5 separate regions of the Homo sapiens genome follow, and all the other regions are linked to region 2. Evidence: promoter capture Hi-C in 16 types of primary human blood cells and fetal thymus (Javierre and others, 2016). All regions are on one chromosome and are shown on one strand. The core of a region is centred on a gene start or on the middle of the fragment in contact, and the rest is flanking DNA. Distances in the headings are between cores, read along the strand shown. Region 1 overlaps SMIM35 (small integral membrane protein 35). Region 2 holds the start of FXYD6-AS1 (FXYD6 antisense RNA 1). Region 3 overlaps SMIM35 (small integral membrane protein 35). Region 4 holds the start of IL10RA (interleukin 10 receptor subunit alpha). Region 5 has its middle 16 kb from the start of IL10RA.

Region 1 (4,679 bases), core at 914-3,413, 240 kb before region 2:
GCCCCACAGGATCATTTCTGATTCACGTTCTGCCACATCCTGATAGCTGGAGCTGCCCCCTGGCCAGGGGATGTGCAAGGTGAAACCTTACAGCCACAGATATTTTGCTGGGAGAGACTTGGATAATTGTCCACATTGTTCCCCCATTCTGTGGGCGACAAAACTAAATTCCAGAGAGGCAAAGTCAATGACCCAAAGTCACATAATGAATTAGTGTCTGGTTCCATATGAATCCAGATCTCCTTCCATTTCTCAGACCTGACCCTCCCAGGAGACCAGCCTGGGTTAGACGTGTGTATTTGTCCTTCTGTTGATAACGTGCTTCTGTGTATCAGCCCTTTAATTCTCCAACAACAACCCCAATATTTTGTTCCCATTTGTCAGCTGAGGAAACTATAGCCTATGGACATGAAGTAGTTTCGGGCAGAGTTGGGGCTGGAACCTGGTTCTCTTACTGGTTCACACTGCCAGGCTTGTGAACAGGCTGAATGGAACACAAGTGTTTGAAAGCCCCAGGTTCATGGTTTGGGATAATATGGCCCATGGAGGACCCCAGTGATGTCTGAGCAGGAGGAATACCGGATCTGTGTAATGGATTATTGGCCAAATCTCAGCTGATGAATGCAGTGTGGCCTTGGACTTGTCTCTGAGCAGCAGAGATCTGAAGCTGGCCTGCAGGGCTCTGGAGCCAGCACAGCCCCAGCCCTTCCTTACTGATGGCTGGTGGCCTTGAGAGTTGGAAGTCTTGGGCAGAGGCAAGAGCCTGTGATCTCAGGTGACCTCAGGGTCAGGGCCGTGATGGTCCAGGCAGGCACCTCCCCAGCAGCAGGGCAGTGAGAAGCCAGTGGGCCACTGGGAGCCACGTTTTCAGTTGTCTTGGTTCCTCTATGTGCCAGGCTAAACATCTGGCCCACAGGTTTGCATTGCTTTACCTGGTGCTCAGGTGATGAACCAGGAAAGAGGCAGCTGTCTGGGCATGAAGGCTGCTGGGCATGGCTGGTTGGAGGGATGATGACTCAGCCCTCCTGGCTTCTGCTCCCATTTGGGTCTGGGAGTTTGTGGAGAGGTCCGGGAAGAAGGCACATAAGCAGGACTGGGCAGGGTGGCTGTGATGCCTGCAGGTGGGGGTGAAGGTTTACAGAGGGAGGCACAGTGGCCTGGAGACAACAGAGGCCCACCTCTCCCAGGTGCCAGGGAAAACCAGCTGGACCAGAACCCACATTCTTTTTTTTTTTTTTTTTCTGAGACAGGGTCCCCCTCTGTTGCCCAGGCTGGAGTGCAGTGGTGCAGCCTCAGCTCACTGTAACCTCCACCTCCTGAGCTCAAGGGATTCCCCCGCCTCAGTCCCCCAAGTAGCTGGGATTACAGGTGTGAGCCACTATGCCTGGCTTATTTTTGTATTTTTTGTAGATACAGGGTTTCACCATGTTGACAAGGCTGGTCTCAAACCCCTGAGCTCAAGCGATCCACTCGCTCTGGTTTCCCAAAGTGCTGGGACTACAAGTGTGAGCCACCGCACCCGGCCCAGAACCCCCATTCTCCCGGAGGAAGCCTCAGCTCTCCCTCAGCCCTGTCCTGCCTGCTTCTTTCTCTTGCCCATCCATCTCTTTAGATCCTCCTCCTGTTTTTCCTCTCTTCTTTCCCTCCCATTACTTCTCTTTTATCTCTTCCTCTTTATTTTTGACATTTTTTTCTCTTCCTTCTTCCCTTTCCTTATCTGTTTCCAGCATGTGTGTCAAGATCCGAGGCAGAGTTATCATGAAACTCCTGAAGCTGAAGCTTCAGAGCCCCTCACTTGCACGGTTCCTTCCAGGGCCCTGGGAAAGGGCCCGGCAATATGTTCACACAATCATACGTTTTTGTAAATTTTGCTGAATATTTCTTTGACGTGCTTTTTCTTCAAGAAAGCCCCTCAAGAAGTGGCCTATCCCTGTGAGTGAAGGCCAGAGCCTTCCTCACCCAGGCTGGTCCCATACAGGTGACCTCAGTTTAAGGACCAACAGGTCTCGTCCAGCTGAGAGCTCTATGCACACCAGATTCTGAGAGGTGTCAGCAGCACTTTAAAAAACTTTGTTGTTTGTTTTCTATGAGGTTTCTGGACAATGGTCTGAGCTCAGACACGTTCTGCAGGAGAATATTATTTCTGTAAAGATGGTTATTTAACCCTCCTCCACCCCATCATGGCGGCGCTGCTGAGGGCTGACCCAGAGGCCAGGGGAACTCGCTGGTGTCCATGGGGGAGGTCCAAGGCCTATTGCCACAGCCCTCCCGCCTTGCACAGCACAGAGGCGGTCACCCCAGGGACAGGCAGGCACCCGGCTGCTCCTGTTGCCCTTCCTGGAGGAGGGGGCTGCCTCCTGTCCCTGCAACTGCTTTCCTTATGGGCCAGCCTGACGCTCAGACTTGTTTGAAGCTGCACCGGCAGCTTTTTTGTCTCTTTTCGGCATTCACAACAGCCGGGGACTTGATCTGGATGTATTTTAAACCACATTAAAGAGTCTGTTGCTTTTTGAAAAAAACCAAGCCCCTCAAAATGCATAAGCTTCAGGCCTCTCAAAACCTGAATCCTCCCTGGTCAAGAGCTTGAGCTCTAGTGGCCTGGGGTCCTGCCTCCTAATCTCAGCCACTAATGATTTGCGTAACCATGGGCATCTTATTTAATCCTCTTGCACGCCATCTTCTTCATCTGTAAAGTGGGGATAACAATACTTCTGACCTCATAGGGTTGTTATGAAGATTAAGAGATAATCCTGGCTGGGCGCAGTGGCTCATGCCTGTATTCCCAGCACTTTGGGAGGTCAAGGCAGGTGGATCACTTGAGGTCAGGAGTTTGAGACCAGCCTGGCCAACATGGCAAAACCTCTATTAAAAATACCAAACTACTCTACTAAAAATACCAAAAAAATTAGCCGGGCGTGGTGGAGGGTGCCTGTAATCCCAGCTACTCAGGAGGTTGAGGCAGGAGAATCGCTTGAACCCAGGTGGAGGTTGCAGTGACCCAAGATCTTGCCACTGCACTCCAGCCTGGGTGACAGAGCGAGACTCCGTCTCAAAAACAACAACGACAACACAAGACCTTCACTTCCATGTGAAGTGTTTGGTGCCTAAGAGAGATGTTGTAAATGGCACTGTTATCCCCATTCATTTCACAAAATGTGTGTTTATGGAGCTCATGCTAGGCCTACCTCTTGTGTTAGGCACTGTGGATTAGGAGATAAAACACAGGCTCTGAATACAAACACCCTACAGTCTACTGAAGGAGACAGGAGACATCCACACATCACAGTAAGCTTAAAAAGATGTTCTAGTAGAGATAAAAAGAGAACACTTGGGGGTTTGGAAACCTTTTTTCATTTTTACAGCTCTCTCTGCTCCCTTCCTCCTTCCTCTCCTCCCTGCCTGATTTCCTTCTTTCTTCCTGCCTTCATTTTTCCCCTAGATATTTTTGCTTAGCTACAGTAATTTGTAGGATGATATATCAATTGCCAGTTGTTTCTTTTTGAGGACGGAGTCTAGCTCTGTCACCCAGGTTGGAGTGCAATGTCACGATCTCCGCTCACTGCAACCTCTGCCTCCCAGGCTCAAGCAATTCTCCTGCCTCAGCCTCCGGAGTAGCTGGGATTACAGGTCTCTGCCATCACACCCAGCTAACTTTTTTCTTTTAGTAGAGACGGGTTTTGCCGTGTTGGCCAGGCTGATCTCGAACTGCTGACCTCAGGTGCTCCACCCACCTTGGCCTCCCAAAGTGCTGGGATTACAGGTGTGAGCCACGGTGCCTGGCTGCCAGTTGTTTCTGATTGTGCATTTGATCTCAGTATCAGCAGTCACCCACTCATCTGTCTATATGTGCCTGGCCATCCATCCACCCATCCATCCAGCCAGCCAGCAAGTATTTTCTATGATGATATCAGACAATGTGGTTAGACACTGTGGTTGGGAAAAATAAAATATCTCCTGCCTTGAAGAGCTCAGTCTGCCCATATACTGCCCTTCCCTTCTAGGAGCTTCTGAGGGCAGCAAGCCCTGTAGATCCTTCCTGCTCAAGGTATGTGTGCCCATGGACCCAGCAATGCCACCAGTGCTGGAAGCTGGTTAGAAGTGCAGAATCTCAGCACGCCCCACTCTTATTCAGTCAGAGTCTGCATTCCAAGATCCCCAGGTGATTTGAATTCACCTTAAAGTTTGAGCAATGCTGTTCTAGGTCTCTTCCCACACTCAGGAGTGGGTAGAGGCTATTATTTCTGAAGTGAGCTGAATTCAGAGACTGGAGCTTGACATAGATGAACCCCTGAGGTTCCTTCCAGCCAGCAGAGCCTATGGTTCTTCCCTTTGAACCCAAGTAAATTGAGATCAGTTTCAGTGACTGGCTCATTTGTTCACATCTCTTCCAAGAAATTAGGTAGAGAAGGGCGCAGTGGGTGGGCATGAGCTGGCAACAGCCCAGGCTCACTCATACCAAGCAGCTCTGGAATGCAGCGTGGAGGGAACCCAGTGTCTTTTTTACAGGGGCCAACAGGAGGCACCTTGGCTCACTGTGAGGGGATGCAAAGCAGGCTCCCTGTTGATTCACTAGCTTTCTGGAAAGGATTTCTACTGCTTAGCAGTCCTTCTCCTAAGACATCATTTAGTCTCAGAGGCGGTTGAATTGAGCCTCAATTATCTGTACCAAAGAATCGAGG
Region 2 (4,353 bases), core at 336-2,835:
CCAGTGGCCACACAGGCCCTGAGTCCGCCTGGATTCCGCAAGTTGTTTAGAACCGAAGAACCGCACAGATCCGCTTGCTCGGTGCCTTCTCTACGTGTGCTCTTGCTTCTGCCTTCGGTCCCCCAGGCCTTTGGAAAGACACAGGCTTATGGTAGAGCTCAAGCTCAACCTGTCAACCCAGTGATCATGGCGATTAAAAACTATCTGGTCACAGCAAGACCTGGTAAATGAGCTTATTGTTCGGGAACACTCGTGATACATCAGGGAATTGACAGGCCTTGCAGAAATTTCATAGCGAGGCCAGGCTGAGATCCCTAGAGGCCCTAGACATGCAAAGCTTTGTGTGTGCCGCCCCCCATACGTTAGTAAAAACAGAACATTATACTTCGACATAGGAATAAGGAAGTCCAATGAGGAGGTTCTAATTTTTCTCATAATAATTATGTTAAGAGTAAGGAATGATGGTCAGCATCTCTAGCACATCATCTACAAATGGTTATCCTTACTTTGCCCGCCTCTAAGCACTCACTTAGTTTTCCTCCTAGTAATCCAGCTATATTCTGAGATTGGTCAGAGATACAATCGTCCTGGTCCAGGTTACACAGCTGGGGGATGGAGGAGCTAGGACTTGACCCCGGGCTGTCTGTCCATAGTGCTTGTCAGCACATGGCCTAGCCTCCTTCAGCAGGCAGATGCTCAGAAGAAGGGACAGTGATCAGATGGCTCCCAAGACTGCACCTGGAGCATGGCTGCCCCTTCAAGACATAAACTAGCTGGACCATGCTCCAAGGAGCCTCCTGTGGGAGTCTAATGGTCTGGAAACAAGACACATGAAGAACAATCGAAGAAATGATGGTCAAAATGGTAATAATTAAAAAAAATGAGCAGCTGAAGTTTATGGAGCACTTACTATGTGCTTGTTTGAGGACTTCACACAGATGAGCTGGATCAGAACTCAGAGTGCTATATATCTCCATGAGGAGGACCAGGAGTGTCCACTCAGCCTCCAGGCATGTGGCACTGGTTTGTAGCTGTGATTTGGTTTAATGAGGCAATGTAGCTTGACTGAATAAGAAGGACAGCTGCCATGCTGTGTCATTTCCCAGAAGGGAATCCCAAGTTCCCTGTCTCAGTAACCTCAGGTGTCCCACACCTTTTGCCTCCCAGTGACTCCCTCCACCCCCCATTCCATTTCGAAGATCTCCATGTCTCTTTGCCTGGAGGTTTTCTGCGTTACTTACCCCTGCTGTAGGAATAGGTCAGTCTGCCTTCTGGGACCCCAGGTGCTGTGGCCCTCCTACCTCTCTGTTTTTTGTTTTTTGTTTTTTTTTTGCAAGATGTAGATTAGAACTTGCCAAATTGTTCTTGGAAGAGAGTCAGAGGCAGAGTACAAGCTGTAGGGAGCGGTGTGAGGGGAGTGCCAGGCGAAGCACACTCCAAGGTCACCGGGCTGTTGGCCCCTTCCTCTGGGAGGAGGGCCTTACCTTGCTTGGAATCATGGGCTTGGCGGGGAGGCTGGGCAAAGCAGGGGTGGGAGAGCACTCCAGCTCTGTCTGGTTCACCCCACCTTGTTCCTGGCTGCTCTGCCTCACCCTGGGCCCAGCGAGAGAAAGGTCAGGTGTGTTTGCCTGAGCCAGGGGAGGAGCTTTGGAAAAACCTGTCTCCAGGCCACAGAGAAGGAATGGCCACCTCTCTCCATTAGTGTGATTTATTGCTGTCACAGCTGAGCTCCAGGGGGGCAGACTCAGCCGGCTCAAGCCAACCAGCTGTTGATCTGATGGGGCCAGCCCAGCCCCGGGCCTGGTTGCACAACAGTGGGGCACCTGCCAAGGCAATGATGGCAGAGCAGGTGATGCTGTGATCGCATGTCCTGAAGGACCTGGATGGCAGGGACTGGAGGGGGTGGGCCCCCCTGCACTATCCAGAAGAACGGTTTCCTACCTCTGAGCTGGGCTTGGAGGCAGTCTGGTAGAGCCTGAGGCTCAGAACATCCCCGAGGTCCCTTCTGCTCTAACAGTGTGAGCTTGGAAAGACCCCAGCCTCTCTGTCAGTTTCCTTTTCTGAATAATCAAGTCCTTCCTAGCTTTGGGGTAAGCTGGGCCTCCTGCTCACTGTGTAACCCTGGAAAAGCCACTTAAGCCTCAGTTTCATCACCTATAAAATAAATGCATCAAGATGTTTTCTGTTATCTCACAGGGTCAAAGTGATACAATGGACATCGAAGCACCGTGACAATTCTCCATGTAGCCATTATGCTATAAATGTTGGCATCACTATCCATTTCCTTGTCTCCTCATTCTCTGATGGCCGGGTTCCTCTTGTCTCTGTTAGACTTGGGTTCATGTTCTGACCTGTTTGCAGACCACCTGCAGTGTCCTCTGTAAAATGGGCATCTCACAGCCTGCCTGGCTGAATTGTTGGGAGGCTCTAAGCAGCTCTTTGGAACCACTGAGACCCTGGAATAGGGTGGAATTGCTGCCAAGTGTGGAGAGTGGGCACCAGGCTCAGTGCAGGTACAAACGTTTAACAGCTTACCCGACCTGAGGCCTCAAGGAGGCCAGGGACTTGGCAATCTGTGCTATAAATGAAGAGAATGGTGACACGGCCACATGCTGGCCATTCAAGCCATGTCAGTGGCATCCGGAAGGTGGTGGAGGGAAGGTAAGAGTAACCAGGGGTGGGCTTGCTCCGCGAGGTCTTCCCGGAGGTGGCGAGCCTCTCCCAGAGGTGAGAGGGAGTTTGGTTACTGGGAGGAGAAAACCAAGAAAAGCTGGAGAGGAATGGGCTCTGTTGTGGTTCAAGCCTGGATGTGAGTTCTGAGAACAGTCAAGAATGCATTTCTCTCCAAGGCATTCACTGTGGGGGAGGTGGGTCAAATGGGTTTGCCCTTGTCACCAGCTGGTGACCTTGACTCTCAGAGTACATTGCCCTTTGGCAGTTCTCAGAACCTCTGTGCACCATGGCTCAGGCCTTCTTGAAGCCAACACTTAAGGAATGGACCCTCTGGGGCCCACCTCCTTCCAGCCCTGCCTTATAAGACCCCAGGGACCTGGCACCTGCAACCATAGCAGGAGGCAGGAGCCAGCGTTCCTCAGGATTCAGGACCTCTGAGTGGGACAAATGGGGCTTGGGAACTGCCACTTTCCCTGCCCAGTGGCCATACGGGTTATGCAGCTGAGGACTGACTTGGGCCTGGGGTCATGGCTTTCTAGGTGCTTCTGGCTTCTGCTTCATTGGAGCCCCTTTCCAGCTGCAAGCCAACACCAGGAGGAACTGATCTGGGGACCTGGAGTTCAAGGCTGTAAACTCCCACAAAGGCCAGAGCTGGCGGAGCTGGAGAACCCCATTCTGGGAAGCTGGTGGTGAGGGCCTCTGCCTTTGATCACCAGGAAAACAGAGGTCAGCTGGATTCCAGCCTATTTCCTCCCTGCCCCACCAACCCAGCAACGACCACCCCAAATGACTGCCCTGAGACTTAGGAGTCAGGAGACAAAAGGGAGGCCTGCCTAGGGGAGACAGGGGAGATGGAGGCCTCGCCACTGAGGGCACGGTCCCATCAGCTGTGACAGTGCTGACGCATCCAGGAGTGGGCACTGCCTCTACCTCCCAACATCTCCCAGAGCTCTGGGTCTTGCAGAGAACAGGAGAGCACAGCTGGATGCTCCTTTGTCTCCATCCTGGAACCATTAGACAAAGGAGGTTTCTTGGTTTTGTGTGGAGAAGAAAGGGAGGCTGGAGATGCAGGGTGAGTTGTGGCCAGCAGGATCATACCAGGGCAGGGTGCTCCCAGAGGCCTGCTTTAGAGATCACCGCAACTGGGGACTGAGCCAAGGGAAGGGATTGCTGTGAGTGTTCTTGTCTCCTGGGGGGCTCAGTTCGGAGTAAGGAAAACACAGCCATCAGTTTTTAGGACCTTCTCTGGCCAAACGCTTGACCTACCTTGCCTCTGTTCCCACAACAATACTGCAAGGTAGGTGTTATTACCCTATTTTACAGGTGGGAGGAGACCCAGAGGGGTGCCCTTGCCCAGGGTCAGGCAGTCCTCAGCAAAGTCTCAGGATGAAAGGGGATTTATGCATGGGTGTGTCTGGCCCTCAGGGTGCCTTGCGTGGTGTCTAGGAGGAGAGACCCTCCTGAACTGAGCTGCTCTCAGGAACATGGGCCACAGGTGGAAGGGCCGCAACCTCTCTGCAGGAGAGCAGGTGTCTCAGAGAGGGGTTCCCTGTCCCCAGTGCTAGCTAGGACCCATGACCTGAGCTAGCTGGGGGAGGACAGGAAGGAAGTCTGAGAAGGACTTAAACATGAGTGAAGCGAGAGGGGTGGGACCTGCTTGACTTAACAAATGCCTGGGCT
Region 3 (4,365 bases), core at 216-2,715, 200 kb before region 2:
GTAATTTACCAGCATTTCCTCATCAGAGTTCTCTCTCTGGTAAGGGTATATCTAGATCTGTAAGGGTCAGTGGACTGTGAATCAATTTTATGGTTTTTTAAAAATCACCACGTATTGGCCAGGCATGGTGGCTCATGCCTGTAATCCCAGCACTTTGGGAGGCCGAGGCGGGTGGATCACTTGAGGTCAGGAGTTTGAGACCAGCCAGGCCAACATGGTGAAACCCCATCTCTACTAAAATACAAAAATTAGCCAGGCATGGTGGCAGGTGCCTGTAATCCCAGCAACTTGGGAGGCTGAGACAGAAGAATCGCTGGAACCCAGGAGGCGAAGGTTGTAGTGAGCCGAGACTGTGCCACTGCACTCCAGCCTGGGCGATAGAGCGAGACTCGACTCTGTCAAACAAACAAACAAACAAACACCACATATTAGGATACTAATGATAGTCCCTATATCCATCCAGAAGTTCCAGAAGTGCTGGCATAAAGCACTGACCACCCCACGGCTGCACACTTAGCACCTGCCTGGAGGATCCCCCATGCTGAGGTCCAGGAGAATGCTTTGTTTCAGTCATTTCTGGGCTGTGACAACACGTGAGCAGGGAGCACTGTGTGAGTCTCCAGGAGGGAATCCTCCTGGGGCCCAGAGACTCCTCCACACCTGAGGAGGGCAGACTGGCTGGGGAGAGCCTGGCCAGGCCCCTAGAGACTGGCAGGGGCAGGCATGCCCCACCCACGCAGGTCCTTCTGTTCTGATGGCACCTGGACCCCCTGTACTTTTTCATAGAACATACGTTTTTGAGCAACCGATTATTAGGGTGCTGATCTGTTGAACATACCTCCTCATAGAACATGAGCTCCATGAAGGCAGCGCTCCTATGTGCCTTGACCACTCTATGCCCAGTGTCTAGTACAGGGCCTGGCACACAGTAAGAACTCCATAAATCCTTGTTGAGTATGGAAATTAATGCTCTTTGGGGCACAGAATTCAAGGGCTGGCATGAGAGGTGGGCAGGGAGAAAGTCCTGGGGCTCTACTTAGAGCTAATGTGGAACTGGTGGAAAAGTTGTTTAAATTTCAGACGGGCACTTTGGGAGGCTGAGGCGGGTGGATCACTTGTGGTCAGGAGTTCAAAAACAGCCTGGTCAACATGGTGAAACTCCGTCTCTACTAAAAATACAAAAATTAGCTGGGCACAATGGCGGATGCCTACGGTCCCAGCTACTCAGGAGGCGGAGGCACCAGAATCGCTTGAACCCAGGAGTTGGAGGTTGCAGTGAGCTGAGATTGTGCCACTGCACTCCAGCCTGGGCGACAGAGTGAAACTCTGTCAAAAAAAAAAAAAAATTCAGAAGGAAACTCCTCACCACTTATATTCATAACCGCAATTTGGACTTACTAACTGGCAAGTCTAATGGACACATATTCCAAGGGGAGCTTCCCTGAGAGTTCCATCCTGGGCTGGTGTTATAATAAGGTGGTTGGCTCCTCGTCCCCCTTGTCATTCTTTGGGTGAATAGCTTGGTGCATATAGAAAGCAGCCATTTCCCTCCTACTTTCACCCTTCACATTGTGGACACTGAGCCTGTTTGTTTGTTTTGAGACAGGATCTCGCTCTGTCACCCATGCTGGAGTGCAGTGGCACAATCTTAGCTCACTGCAACCTCTGCCTCCCAGGCGATTCTCCAAGTAGCTGGGACTACAGATGTGAACCACCACGCCCAGCTAATTTTTGTATTTTTTGTAGAGATGGGGGTCTTGCCATGTTGCCCAGGCTGGTCTTGAACTCCTGAGCTCAAGCTATCTGCCTGCCTCGGCCTCCCAAAGTGCTGGGATTACAGGCATGAGCCACTGGGCTGAGCCCCCTAAGCCTATTGTAACCCATAATTGGAATGGTGAGTTTTTGGAATATAAATTGAGACAGTGACAATTTTTTAAAAAAGTAATCAACAACTAATATTTATTAAGTGCTTTATTTGTAGTAGACATGTATTATTTTATTTTATTTCTTTTTTTGTGTGTGTGTGAGATGGAGTCTCACTGTTATTGCCCAGCCTGGAGTGCAATGAATGGCACGATCTCAGATCACTGCAACCTCCATCCATCTACTGGTTTCAAGCGATTCTCCTACCCCAGCCTCCTGAATAGCTGGGATTACAGGTGCTTGTCATCATGCCTGGGCTAATTTTTGTATTTTTAGGAGAGATGGGGTTTCACCATGTTGGTCAGGCTGGTCTTGAACTCCTGACCTCAGGTCATCTGCCCGCCTCGGCCTCCCAAAGTGTAGGGATTACAGGAGTGAGACACTGCGCCTGGCCTATTTTAAATAAATCTATGGTAATTCCAGGCGTTAGGGTACTTTTATTATTTCCATTTCATAGACAAATGAACTGGGTTTCGGAGAAATTAAGTATCTTGCTCATGGACACATTGTAAGTAACTGGTAAAACTGAGATTCAAGTTCACATCTGTTTGGCACAAGCACCCAAACACTTAACTTTTGTTCTATATTGCCAAAGGATTGTAGAATTCTATGAATGATTTCTTACTGACTGATGGTCTTTTGAAATTTCATTTACACTTTCACCTGAAGTGCCTTTTGAAACTGTCATCTTGAAGTGCCCCCGAGGGAGGGAGGCACTTTTCTTTCGGTATCAGGAGATCACTGAAACCCAAAATCTGCGTTCACCCTTCCATGTTTGAGTAAGTGCAGGCCTTGCCCTAAACTTTCTTGATTTTACAGGGACATTTTCTGGAAGCCAAAGCAACAACAACAACAACAAAACAGAAAAAACCCCTTGACTATACAGAGAAGGCAGTTTGTAAAGAAATAGGAAAAAAAATACACAGGAATTTATCGAATTTAAATTCTATTTAAACTGTGTTGAAAGCCTCTAAGTCTGATGCTTGTCAAAGGACTTTGACCAAAACAGAAGGGTAGATTTTAAAAAGTATTCCACAGGGTAAGGTTTGGGTGAGAAAAAAGTCATCGAAACGTAGACCTAAATTAATAAACAAGAGGCTTTTCTCAGCTACATGGTCCTGACAAAACTGTTTTGAAGTCTGTCTATGTGTTCTAGAATCCTTGTTAATCGCTAATCAAGAACAATCCCTCATACAGATCTTTAAATTAAAAAGCCTGAATTAAATAAAACACCAGGTAAAGACTTTCTGCTACCAAAATTGTTCAAAGCCTGACTTAATTGATGAGAGCTGATCCTTATTCACTTTTTGCCTTAACTGTAGAGAGAAAAATAAAAATTTCCATGCGTGTGCATGCAAATGTCTAACATTATTATGTATTAGTTTTTTGAATGTAAAAAAATAAGAAAAACAGAAATGACACATAATCTCACTCTCCAGAAAACTCCTTTTTTTGTTGTTGTTTTTTGTTTTGAGACAGAGTCTCATTCTGTTGCCCAGGCTGAAGTGCAGTGGCATGGTATCGGCTCACTGCAACCTCCACCTCCTGAGTTCAAGTGATTCTCGTGCCTCAGCCTCCTGAGTAGGTGGGACTATAGGCGCCTGCCACCACGCCTGGATAATTTTTGTATTTTTTGGTAGAGACGGGGTTTCACCATGTTGACCAGGCTGGTCTCAAACTCCTGACCGCAAGTGATCCCCACATCTCGGCCTCTCAAAGGCTGGGATTACAGGTGTGAGCCACAATGCCCAGCCTCCTGTATTTGTTTTTATTAGAGTAATACATGTACCTGGCAAAAAAAAATAAACTATGCAGGAAGATATAAAATGAAAAACAAAAGCTCTTTCCTACCACCACCCAGTTCCTCTCCCAGATCATCACATTACTTTTCTTCTGCATCTGTCCAGAAGAATAAGGTGTATATATACATTAAAATGCATATCATGAAATATATAGTCTTTTAAAAGAATTTTACTATATCCACTTAAACTTTGCTTTTTCATATATAATTATTCGTATTACTCTAGAATGTATTTCCTACAGACATTTCCCTACATAACCATGACACAGTGATCAAAATCAGAAAATTAATAACAATACACTACTCCCATCTAATTCTCACATTACTCAAGTTTTGTCAGTTGCCCCGATAGTGGCTTTTACAGCAAAAGGATACAATTCAGAATCACAAGTTGCATTTAGTTGTCATGTCTTTTTATTCTGCTTCAGTCTGGAGCATTTTCTCAATCTTCTCTTGAATGATCTTTATACTCAGGCTGGAGTACAGTGGTGTGATCTTGGCTCACTGTAATCTCTGTCTCCTGGGCTCAAACCATCCTCCCACGTAGCTGGGACCACAGGCACGCACCACCACACCCAGCTAATTTTTTTTTTTGTATTTTTTTGTTAGAGACGGGGTGTCGCCATTTGCCCAGGCTGGTC
Region 4 (4,433 bases), core at 68-2,567, 150 kb before region 2:
CAATACCAATTCCTAGCTCTACTCTCCCTTTACCCCCAGTACACACCATTCACCATGGGAAACACTGCTGAAGGCATTGTCTTCTTTGTAAGAATGCAACAAACATTTCTACTTTAAGAGTCTTGTTGATCAAGCAGACTGAAGTATGTGCAAGGCCAACGGCTGGTTGGTTCCCTTTCTCTCCTCCTTGATCCTCTAAGTTCTCTCCATTTGACAGCGACTCTGCTCCCGCTCCCTAGTGTTCTAACTTCTCTACATCTCTCTAATCATGCACCTGTTTTTTATTTATTTTTTGGGGGGGAGGACTCTGTCATCTGTCTCTTGCTTTCTTTCTTATACCGTCTTTGATCTTCACGTCAGTGCCTTGATTTCGAAACATTAGACGGAAAGTGAAAAATGCAGCGAGTCGTTGTGGTATTTGGGCTGCACATCTCCGACTCAGCTCTCGATCACGTGAATGGCTGACTGCATGTTTTACTTTGTATTTTGGTGTCATGAAGAAGCAGTTTCGGTCCTTGCTCTCTGTCTCTGCTCTTGGTCCTTCCAACTCCCGGCTCTTTCATTCTGTCTCTGGGGTTTACTTTTCTTAGTTGCAGAAACCTTGCCGGAGAACTGTCTGGGTTAGGAGCCTGAACTGGGTTAGAAGCCTGAACTGGCTGGGTTAGGAGGAGAGAGGCAGGGGGCAGTGGGAGTGAGTTGGGGGCTACAGGTGGAGCAAGGGGGATCAGATCGGGGTGATCAGTGAGGGATGAAGGTGAGATGGGAGAAGGACAGACAGAGGTTAGTTGAAGAGTCGACTAAGAGAAGGGAGAGTCAGGAGATCAAAATTATTCCCCAAGGGGACAAGAAGTCCCATCATTTGAACCTAAACAGCAAAAAACCTAGAGCTAAACTTACGGCTCATCTAGAAGTGGGTGGATGATGAGGTTTGCGGGTTGGGGGTTTGGCCTTGCGCATACTTCTCTATCCTTCCCAATCCGTCAGTTCCTGTCAATTTCAGCCTCTTCCACTTCCACAACAGGTGAGCCTGAGATCCAGGTTTGCCAGAGTAAGGGAGCACCCGGGCACCGCTCTGCCAGAGGGCCAGCCAGCCAGGGCTCTCCACTGGATGGAGAACTTTAATGGAGCGGGCGCGGAGAGGGCAGGGCAGGGAAGGGCCGCGTCCCGGAGCCTTACCATGAGCGTCTGAGCCAAGACGGAGGCTGAGGAGCGCCGCCAGCAGCACTACGAGGCACGGCAGCATCCTGGGCGCGCCGCATCGTCCGGGGCCGGAGCGGAGCCGGCCTGCGCGCCTCCAGCTACCCTTGGGCTGGGACTGACAGCTCCGCCGCCCGCTCCGCCAGCGCCCCGCAGGGCTGACGTCAGCGGGGCGAGGCCTACAGACGCCCCGCCCCCGAGGCCGCGGACGGGGAACCACTGTCCCACAGGGCTACCGCCTGGGGCAACCCGAGGCTGTCCTGGGGCGCTAGCGGGCTCCGGCCACCCCTCCCTTTCCTTCCCTCTGGGCCTCCAGTGCCTTCGGATCAAAGTGGTCCGGGTAGCCCGGCCGGCCGTGGGTACGTGTGTGTGGGTGTGTGCGCGCGCGCGTGTGTGCATGTGCTGGGAAGCAGGTGGCCAGGCACAGCCTCGGCCCTGAGTGCGGAAGGTGGGGTGAGGGCGTCCGAGCCGCTTTTGCCTGGCGTGCCGGCTTGGCGTTAAGGATGTGGCCGCGGCCGCTCCGAATGGGGAGGAGGTAGTTGCAGGCCCTTGAGGGCAAAGGCGCCAGGACGCCGGTGTGAGTCTTGGCGTTGCCCCAGGGCCTCCCCGTCTGGGGGTCTGAGGACACCGATGGATGAATACTGAGTAGTCCCCTACCTAATTGTTGGAGGGGGGTCCACAACTAAGCAGTTTATGCAGACCTGCCCCCAAAGTCCCAGGAAGCTGAGAGACCCAAGAAAGAGGCTTTTAACCAGCAGCTCAGCAGCTGAGCCTCAAACCGCGATTTTTAAAATTTTTTTATCTATTTTTTTTTTTTACAGTCTCGCTCTGTCGCCCAAGCTGGAATGCAGTGGCGTGATCTCGGATCACTGCAACCTTCGTCTCCCAGGTTCAAGCGATTCTCCTGCCTCAGCCTTCCGAGTAGCTGGCATTACAGGCATGTGCCACCACGCCTGGGCTAATTTTTGTATTTTTAGTAGAGACGGGGTTTCACCATGTTGGCCAGGCTGGTCTCGAACTCCTGACCTCAGGTGATCCACCCGCCTCAGCCTCCCAAAGTGCTGGGATTACAGGGGTGAGCCACCGCGCCCAGCCTTAAACCGTGTTTTAAACTTAGTTTCTCTTCTTTCCTTTTTTCTCTTCCTCCTCTGGGCCTCAAGATATAATTTTGAGACAAACTGCATGTATGTTACCTCTCATCTTAAAACACAGCCTCAGGACGTGCTGTGACCTCCACTCCCTTTCCTGTCCCATACTGTACTCCCATGCCTTACGCACGTTTATTTACCTACGTGCTTGTTAAGCACACGCTATGCTCTTACCTGGTCATATATTTCCTTAGATGCCTCAGGAGCTGCGTCCTGATAGGGACCAGGCACCTCCGGAATTCTCTCTCCAACAAAAGCTTACTTCAGGAGTTGAACATATACCCTGCTGAAGAGTAACTAATTTATAACCTGGCAGGATCCACGATTGCACCAGCCCCTCCACCAAATAAGACGATAATTAAAGAGGACCACTGGAGCAAGTCACACCACCTGGTACCTCCTAACCTCCCCCTTGCCTTTTCTGCATTTCAGATCCTTTCTTAAAAAACCCCTGCGTTCCCCCCATGAATTGAAGAGTGGAATTGTTTGCTGCTCTTCCCCTGCTAGCATGGCAGCTAGCAGATTTTCCTTTATTATCCATTCTTTCTACAAGCAGAGAGCAGCCAGATCCTTTTGCAGGTTACAGGCTGACACATCCAGTTTCTTCGAAAAAAACATTTAATAAGGACTTATAAACAGAAGCTACGTTTGTGTCTCCATGATTCACCCCCAGGACCAGGGCTTATAGACCACAGGGGAAGGGTGATTCAGAAAAGATGTGTAGGACAGTTGAAGTATGATAACATCAAGGTTGTTTGACCTAAGGGCCGGATTTACAGTAAGTGTTTGCACTTACACAAGGAGCAATTGATAAATTGGGAATCTCAGAGGTCTTCTGGGAGGCTCCAAAGCCAACACGGCCAAAACTGTGGATTAGCATCCAACATGGAGTTGCTTTAGCCTCCATAAGGACTTCTCCCAGTCTCTTCTGGGTTTCCCTTGCTTGCTTGAAATCTGATATTCAGACCAATTTTTGTGTTGGGTAATAGCACTACTGGAGTGCTGGGTAACACCTCAGCACATCCTCAGTCTCTCGCACCTCTGTGTCACTTGGCTCATCTGAGGCCATCTCCAGGTGAACCAAATATGTGAGGATATGAGAGACAGACTGTCCATCACTTTTTCTTGGAGGCTGACACCTGCTTCAAAGTGTGTGTGTGTGTGTGTGTGTGTGTGTGTGTGTGTGTGTGCACTTGCAGTCATATATGATTTGCAGTGGCCAGTCTGTGGATTTGGATTTCATTGTGGTGTGGAGAACGTTGTCTGTTTGCCAAGTGCATATGTGTGTTTGGGACTGTGTGTGCATCCCTCAAGCCCTGCCCTTGTTCTCAGACAAACCAAAGAAGAGGGGCTCAGGACATTTCTGGCCAGCAAGGCCCCACTCCAGGCCTGCTGCCCCACCCACCCGGCCATACCCCGCCCTGCCTGTATTGTAGTTTGTACCTTCATTTGTTCCTGAGCTCTTGTCCTGTGTTCAAGAAGAATGAGAATTCGCTGACAGTTGAAGGGTGAGGATGGGCAGAGAATAATTTTATTGAGTGATGGACCAGCTCTCAGCAGAGAGGGGATGGGGAGGGGGGTGGTTCCCCGCTCCCACAGTTGGGTGTTTTTTTTTCTCAGTGTGGCTGGATCCAGGGCTTTTTCTGGACTCAGAATAGGGAGTGCATGCCGATTGGTTTGTGAGTATGCAAAAAAGGTTAAAGTGAAAATACCACTCAAAGGTGGGTACGACAGTGTAGAAAACCAATTAGGAAAGGGTAGGTGTATGTAAAGTAGGTGAAGGGTGGGGATCAATCAGAGGAAAGCGTGCCAAATGGGAAGACAGGTTCTCAATCTGGTCTGAAGATTTAACTTGCAGCTTGGCTTTCAGGTTTTAAGTTGTCTTCAACTTGGAGGTGGGGTTTCACCAGGGACCCGCCCTATCTGCCTAGGCATTTGACTGCCTCCTGTAACTATCACCTGCTCCTGGGAGGTTTCCCTGGCAGTGCCCAATGCCCACATGGAGGGCCTTATTTACTGCAGCTTTTGAGAAAGGGCCCCTAACTTAGGTGTGTGACACCAGCACTGTGCGTGGTCTAGGAGTTAGTG
Region 5 (4,940 bases), core at 944-3,443, 140 kb before region 2:
CCTGAGCTCAAGCGATCCACCTGCCTCAGCCTCCCAAAATGTTGAGATTACAGGCGTGAGCCACTGCGCCTGGCCTCCACCTCCATTTTAAATAGAGTGGGCAGCAGGCCTCCCCCAGTAGGTGACATTAGAATGAGGACCCAAGGGATGTGAGGAATGAACCGTGTGGATATCTGAACGAAGGGTGTTGTGGGCAAAGGGAACAGCAAGTGCCAGGCCTCCAGGTAAGGGCGTGCCCGGCCGGTGTGGGAGGGGTTGGCGCCCAGTGAGTGAGGCCCACCTAAGTGAGGGATGGCTCCTTCATGGGGCTCATGGCTACTGGCTGACAGACAGAGAGACAGACAGGGAACTCGAGAACTCTCAGCCTCCCCCACTTGTGGAGAACATTCCCTGGAGGAGAGTCGAGAGAGGCATGGACATAGGGCTCTTCTTCCTGCAGCTTCTGAGTAAATTATGATCCCCCTGCACACTCGGGCTTTAGCCCTCCTTACACTCACCCTCTCCTCTCTTTCTTCTTGATCCCCTTTTCTTTTTTCCTTTTAAAATTATTTCAGATTATTCTAGATTATTCCATCCCCCATAAATCTGACGTGCTTAGACACGGAGAAGGCAGGAGGGTTTTGGGGGTCAGGGTGAGGAGGGTTTTGGAGGTCAGGTGTATTTGTTTCCCAAGGCTATATCAAATTATCACACACTGGGTGGCTTAAGATGACGGAATGAATTCTCTCCTGGTTCTGGAGGGTCTGAAATCAGTTTCATTGGGCTGCAATCAAGGTACTGGCAGGGCTGGAATTTTCTAGGAAGGAATGTGTTCCTTGCCTCTTTTGGCTCCTGGTGGCTAGCCTTCGTGTGTGCGTGTGTGTGTGTGTGAGAGTGAAATCTTTCCCTGCCTCTTTTTTATACCAAAAATTTCTTAAGAGCTCCAATGCAATTGCATTTAGGGCTCACTTTGATCATCTAGGATAACCTCCCCATCTCAAGACCCAATATACAAAGACACTGTTCCCATATAAAGTAACACTCACAGGTTCAAGGGATTAGGTCTGGATATCTTTTGGGGGCCATTTTCATCCTACCACAGAGAGTGTTCCAGTTTCAACATTCATCTCTATATTCATTCAGTCATTCCCTATTCGACACAGGGTCACTGGCTATTTCCTCAGTGCAAGGCAGTGTGCAGGATGCTGGGAATACACGGTGAGCAAAGGAGAGCCCCCCAGGAGCTTGCGGTTTAGAAGGAGAGATGGATGTGAATCAAATAGTCACTCAAATAAAACGCAGAGTTGCGACTGTGGTAAGTGCCATGAGAGCCTGTATTTGGGGTTTTACCTGGTAAGGAGGCCAAGAAAGCTTCCAGGAGGAAGTACCCTTAAATCTGCATGAGTTGGGGTAACCTTCCCTTCAAAGAGGGAAGGAAGAGACTTCCAGGTGGAGGGGACAGATGGCAGAACGGAGGTATGGCTGGCTCTGGCAGGTTGTGCAGGGCTTGGGGTGGCCTGGGGTGGCGGGTGGGGTTTCAAAGATTGTGTGGAGACTATTGTGGTGTGCCTCCTCCCCACCCTCTACCCCAGTCCTCACCCTTGGCTACTGCTCTGTATCCAGGGCCTCTTCCTCCTATTCCTGACTCAGGCCCATCCCTCCACTTCCTGCTCAGTGTGGCTTGTGGTTTAATAAGGAAACTCCCCAGGCTCAGTGTTGGGGCAGACCGCTAAGCTTCAGTCAACAAAAACTTCTTATGAGCCTACCGTGTGGCACACATTGTGTTGGGAATGAGAAGGAATAGGATGAGGAAACAACATTATTCTGGTCCTTGGGGCAAGAGGCTGTATGGTGGAGGGGAAAACAGAGAGGGTTAAGTGCTGAATAGTCTGTTGACTTGGGTTGAATCTCACTTCTGCTACTTACTGGCTGTGTAATATTGGAAGAGTGACTTCACCTGTCTGTGCCTCAGTCAGCAAACATTTATCAGCTAATTCCAGTCAACAGACATTTAGTGTGCACCCACTGTGTGCTAGGCAGTGGGCCATATGCTGGCAACCCGCAGAGACATGTCTGAGTGGGAATAGAACTCTGAGGTTGGCTGTTTCCTTGCACAGGCCACCAGATGATTTCTGTATGGGGACCCCAGCCAGGCAAGCTCTCTAGGAGATGGCAGTCAGAGAGTGGGGACACAGTCCTGGGAGTGTGCAGCTATTTGGCCTTCTTTGTGCCTTCTCTTCCCCCCTTCTGCAGAATACTCAACACTGCTTATGGAGAACCTTCCTTGGTTAACACTAGACATTCTCATCTTCCTAAGTGCTCCAGCTTTGGGAAGAATGTGCTGTTTTGACCAACAGTTTCATGTGCATCTTTGTTGATCGGCCACTATTATTAGGTGCCTCTACTTGATGTTTTTTAATGGGAATGGCTCCAGTCTTTTCCACTGAGCCATTCCATATAAAGTCCAAGATGGAGTTGGACAGCATGTTCACTTACTGGACCATGCTTGGCAAATCACTTGACCTCTCTAAGCCTCCATTTCTATGATAAAGTGAGGGTATGAATCCCTGCCCTGCATCCTCCTAAGGCTTTTGTAAAAATCAAATGAGATTCTGCACCCAAGCTGTCTTTTCACCTCATTGTGGTGCCCAGCACAAAGCACTAGGGGTGGTAGTAAGGAGGGGTGAAAGCTTGAGCGTTAAATGGTTCATACTTGTGAAAATTGGCTGAGCCCCACCATACCTCATGGGTCCTTCTTTAAGGGTTGTTTTGTGGGCAGGTGGGTTAACCGTCCACAAATTGTTTGGTTTGGTTTTCTTTTCCAACCATAGTGGCTTTTGAGTCTTCAACTCCCTGCCTGCCCTCTTGCCTTTTTAACATCTGGGTGGGGGATTTTGCTCAGAGTGTGAAACAGACTTCTAGATCTCTCAGGTCCTCATAGGTGTGAGGTGCTGTTTTTGCCCTTGGGTGGCAAGGGTACTTTATGTGTGAGTGGAGGTGTCAGGCTATGGCCCCTCATTCCCTGGGACTGTTATGGTGGCCAGGGTCTCATAGTCTGTGTCTGAGAGTTCAGGCACCTATCAGAAATCACGGAACTGAATTCTGGGGTTGGCTCTGGAGCATGCTGAGTTGGGCACCCAGTTACTACACAACCAGGCCCAGCAGGGAAGGAAGGGGGGGGAACCAGAAATGCATGAACAAGACCAGTGAGAGCAGGGCTCACCTAGCAGCACAAAACCCTCATGGACAAATACGGCAAGGAAATTCACTGAAATTTTAAAAGTATGGTGTGCAAGGCACACACGGGAATGCAGTGGGGCTCACCAGTAGGGCTCTGATTCTTTATGCATAAAATGGGCATAATAATACTATGTAGAGTTATCGCAAAGGTTAAATGAAATAAGATATGTGAATGATGTTTAGGACAGTGCATGGTACCAAGTAAGTGTCCAACAAATGTTAGATATGAGAGATCCCGCTCAGAGTCTATAAACTGTTATCAGCCAAAGGGTTATTCCAGTACAAGCTATTTCCAAACACCCTTTGGCTGATAACAGTTATAAATTCTGAATAAAATATTTAAAACTTCAGCTATTAGAAGAGACAGATCTCCCGTGTACAAGAATTTCGTATCACTTACATAGATAATCTGCCATCAATGGTGGTGGAGGAAGAAAACCTTCTCACTCTTTAAGTGCAGGCTGCACATAGTGACTTCCTAAGTGCAGGCTGTACAGTGACTTCCTTCCAGAGAATACAGCATAGAAAGTGGAGAATGAATAACTTTATAGTGGAGAAGCCAACAAACAACGTCAGCCTGCTGAATAAGATGAAAATCAATAGCAGTAAGTTACGTTGATAGTATACACCCTTCATGTGATGTGACAAGAACGGCATTTAACCTCTGTAGTCTTCCTTCCCAGAACGCACAGCCCCAGATAACCATGAGGAAACCATAAAATGAACTCCAATAGTGGGAACTCCTACACTGCACTTGACCAGTATGCACCAGAACTGTCAAGGGCACCAAAACCCAGAGACTCACATCCAAAAGCATTCTATGGAGACATGGCAACTAATTATGACACCCTGGATCAGATGCTGGAGTAGAAAAAGGACATTAGGGCTGGGCGTGGTGGCCCATGACTGTAATCCCAGCACTATGGGAGGCCGAGGAGGGTGGATCACCTGAGGTCAGGAGTTCGAGGCCAGCCTGGCCGACATGGCGAAACCCCGTCTCTACTGAAAAATACAAAAATTAGCTGGGTGTGGTTGTGGGCGCCTGTAATCCCAGCTACTCAGGAGGCTGAGGCAGCAGAATAGCTTGAATCTGGGAGGCAGAGGTTGCAGTGAGCCAAGATCATGCTACTGCTCTCCAGACTGGGCGACAGAGCGAGACTCCATCTCAAAAAAAAAAAAAAAGGAAAAGAACGTTAGGTGAAAACTAAGGAAATGTGACTACAGTATGGACTTTATAGTCAGTGATGATATATCAATATTAAGTTCATTAATTGTAACAAAAGTACCACACTAATGTAAGATGTTAATAATGGATGTGGGGTATATGAGAACCCTCTGTAGTATGTTCTCTCTCTCTTTTTTTTTTTTTTGAGATGGAGTCTCACTCTGTCGCCCAGGCTGGAGGGCACTGGCGCAATCTCAGCTCACTGCAACCTCTGCCTCCCAGGTTCAAGCAATTCTCCTGCCTCAGCCTCCCCAGTAGCTGGGATTACAGGCATGCATCACCATGGCCAGCTAATTTTTGTATTTTCAGTAGAGACGGGGTTTCGCCATGTTGGCCAGGCTGGTCTCGAACTCCTGACCTCAAGTGATCCACCCACCTCGGCCTCCCAAAGTGCTGGGTTTACAGTCATGAGCCACTGCGCCCGGCCCACCTCATTTTTTTTTGAGACAGGGTCTCATTATGTTGCCCAGACTGGACTCAAACTCCTAGGCTCAAG

What was found. Contacts are between HindIII fragments. The CHiCAGO score rates a contact against its expected background, and 5 or more counts as called.
Region 1: a fragment that was not itself captured here is called in contact with the fragment with the promoter of FXYD6-AS1 in region 2 in 14 of 17 cell types (non-activated CD4 T cells, naive CD4 T cells, total CD8 T cells and 11 more); the score reaches 11.1 in non-activated CD4 T cells.
Region 3: a contact is called between a fragment that was not itself captured here and the fragment with the promoter of FXYD6-AS1 in region 2, in 1 of 17 cell types (non-activated CD4 T cells). The highest score is 5.8, in non-activated CD4 T cells.
Region 4: the fragment with the promoter of IL10RA here is called in contact with the fragment with the promoter of FXYD6-AS1 in region 2 in 6 of 17 cell types (naive CD4 T cells, M1 macrophages, monocytes and 3 more); the score reaches 7.6 in naive CD4 T cells.
Region 5: a contact is called between a fragment that was not itself captured here and the fragment with the promoter of FXYD6-AS1 in region 2, in 6 of 17 cell types (monocytes, M1 macrophages, activated CD4 T cells and 3 more). The highest score is 7.3, in monocytes.

Annotation. Positions count from the first base shown.
Region 1 is chr11:118,071,311-118,075,989 of GRCh38, reverse strand. The region is part of intron 1 of SMIM35 (small integral membrane protein 35); the gene reads left to right. Among named protein-coding and RNA genes, the nearest start is that of TMPRSS4, 3.4 kb to the left of the region's middle. The HindIII fragment of the contact is 763 bases long and covers 1,782-2,544 here.
Region 2 is chr11:117,830,950-117,835,302 of GRCh38, reverse strand. FXYD6-AS1 (FXYD6 antisense RNA 1) reads right to left here and starts at 1,585. Exons shown (of 3, transcript NR_186291.1): 1 at 1,242-1,585. All of the region lies in intron 6 of FXYD6-FXYD2 (FXYD6-FXYD2 readthrough), which reads left to right. The HindIII fragment of the contact is 9,424 bases long and covers 340-4,353 here.
Region 3 is chr11:118,031,938-118,036,302 of GRCh38, reverse strand. All of the region lies in intron 1 of SMIM35 (small integral membrane protein 35), which reads left to right. Among named protein-coding and RNA genes, the nearest start is that of TMPRSS4, 43 kb to the left of the region's middle. RefSeq lists an enhancer at 2,718-2,797. The HindIII fragment of the contact is 6,184 bases long and covers 1-4,365 here.
Region 4 is chr11:117,983,278-117,987,710 of GRCh38, reverse strand. IL10RA (interleukin 10 receptor subunit alpha) reads right to left here and starts at 1,317. Exons shown (of 7, transcript NM_001558.4): 1 at 1,177-1,317. The coding sequence starts at 1,243. RefSeq lists enhancers at 140-439, 1,830-1,889 and silencers at 1,240-1,519, 1,540-1,639. The HindIII fragment of the contact is 8,039 bases long and covers 1-2,604 here.
Region 5 is chr11:117,967,558-117,972,497 of GRCh38, reverse strand. No RefSeq gene overlaps it. Among named protein-coding and RNA genes, the nearest start is that of IL10RA, 16 kb to the left of the region's middle. The HindIII fragment of the contact is 956 bases long and covers 1,716-2,671 here.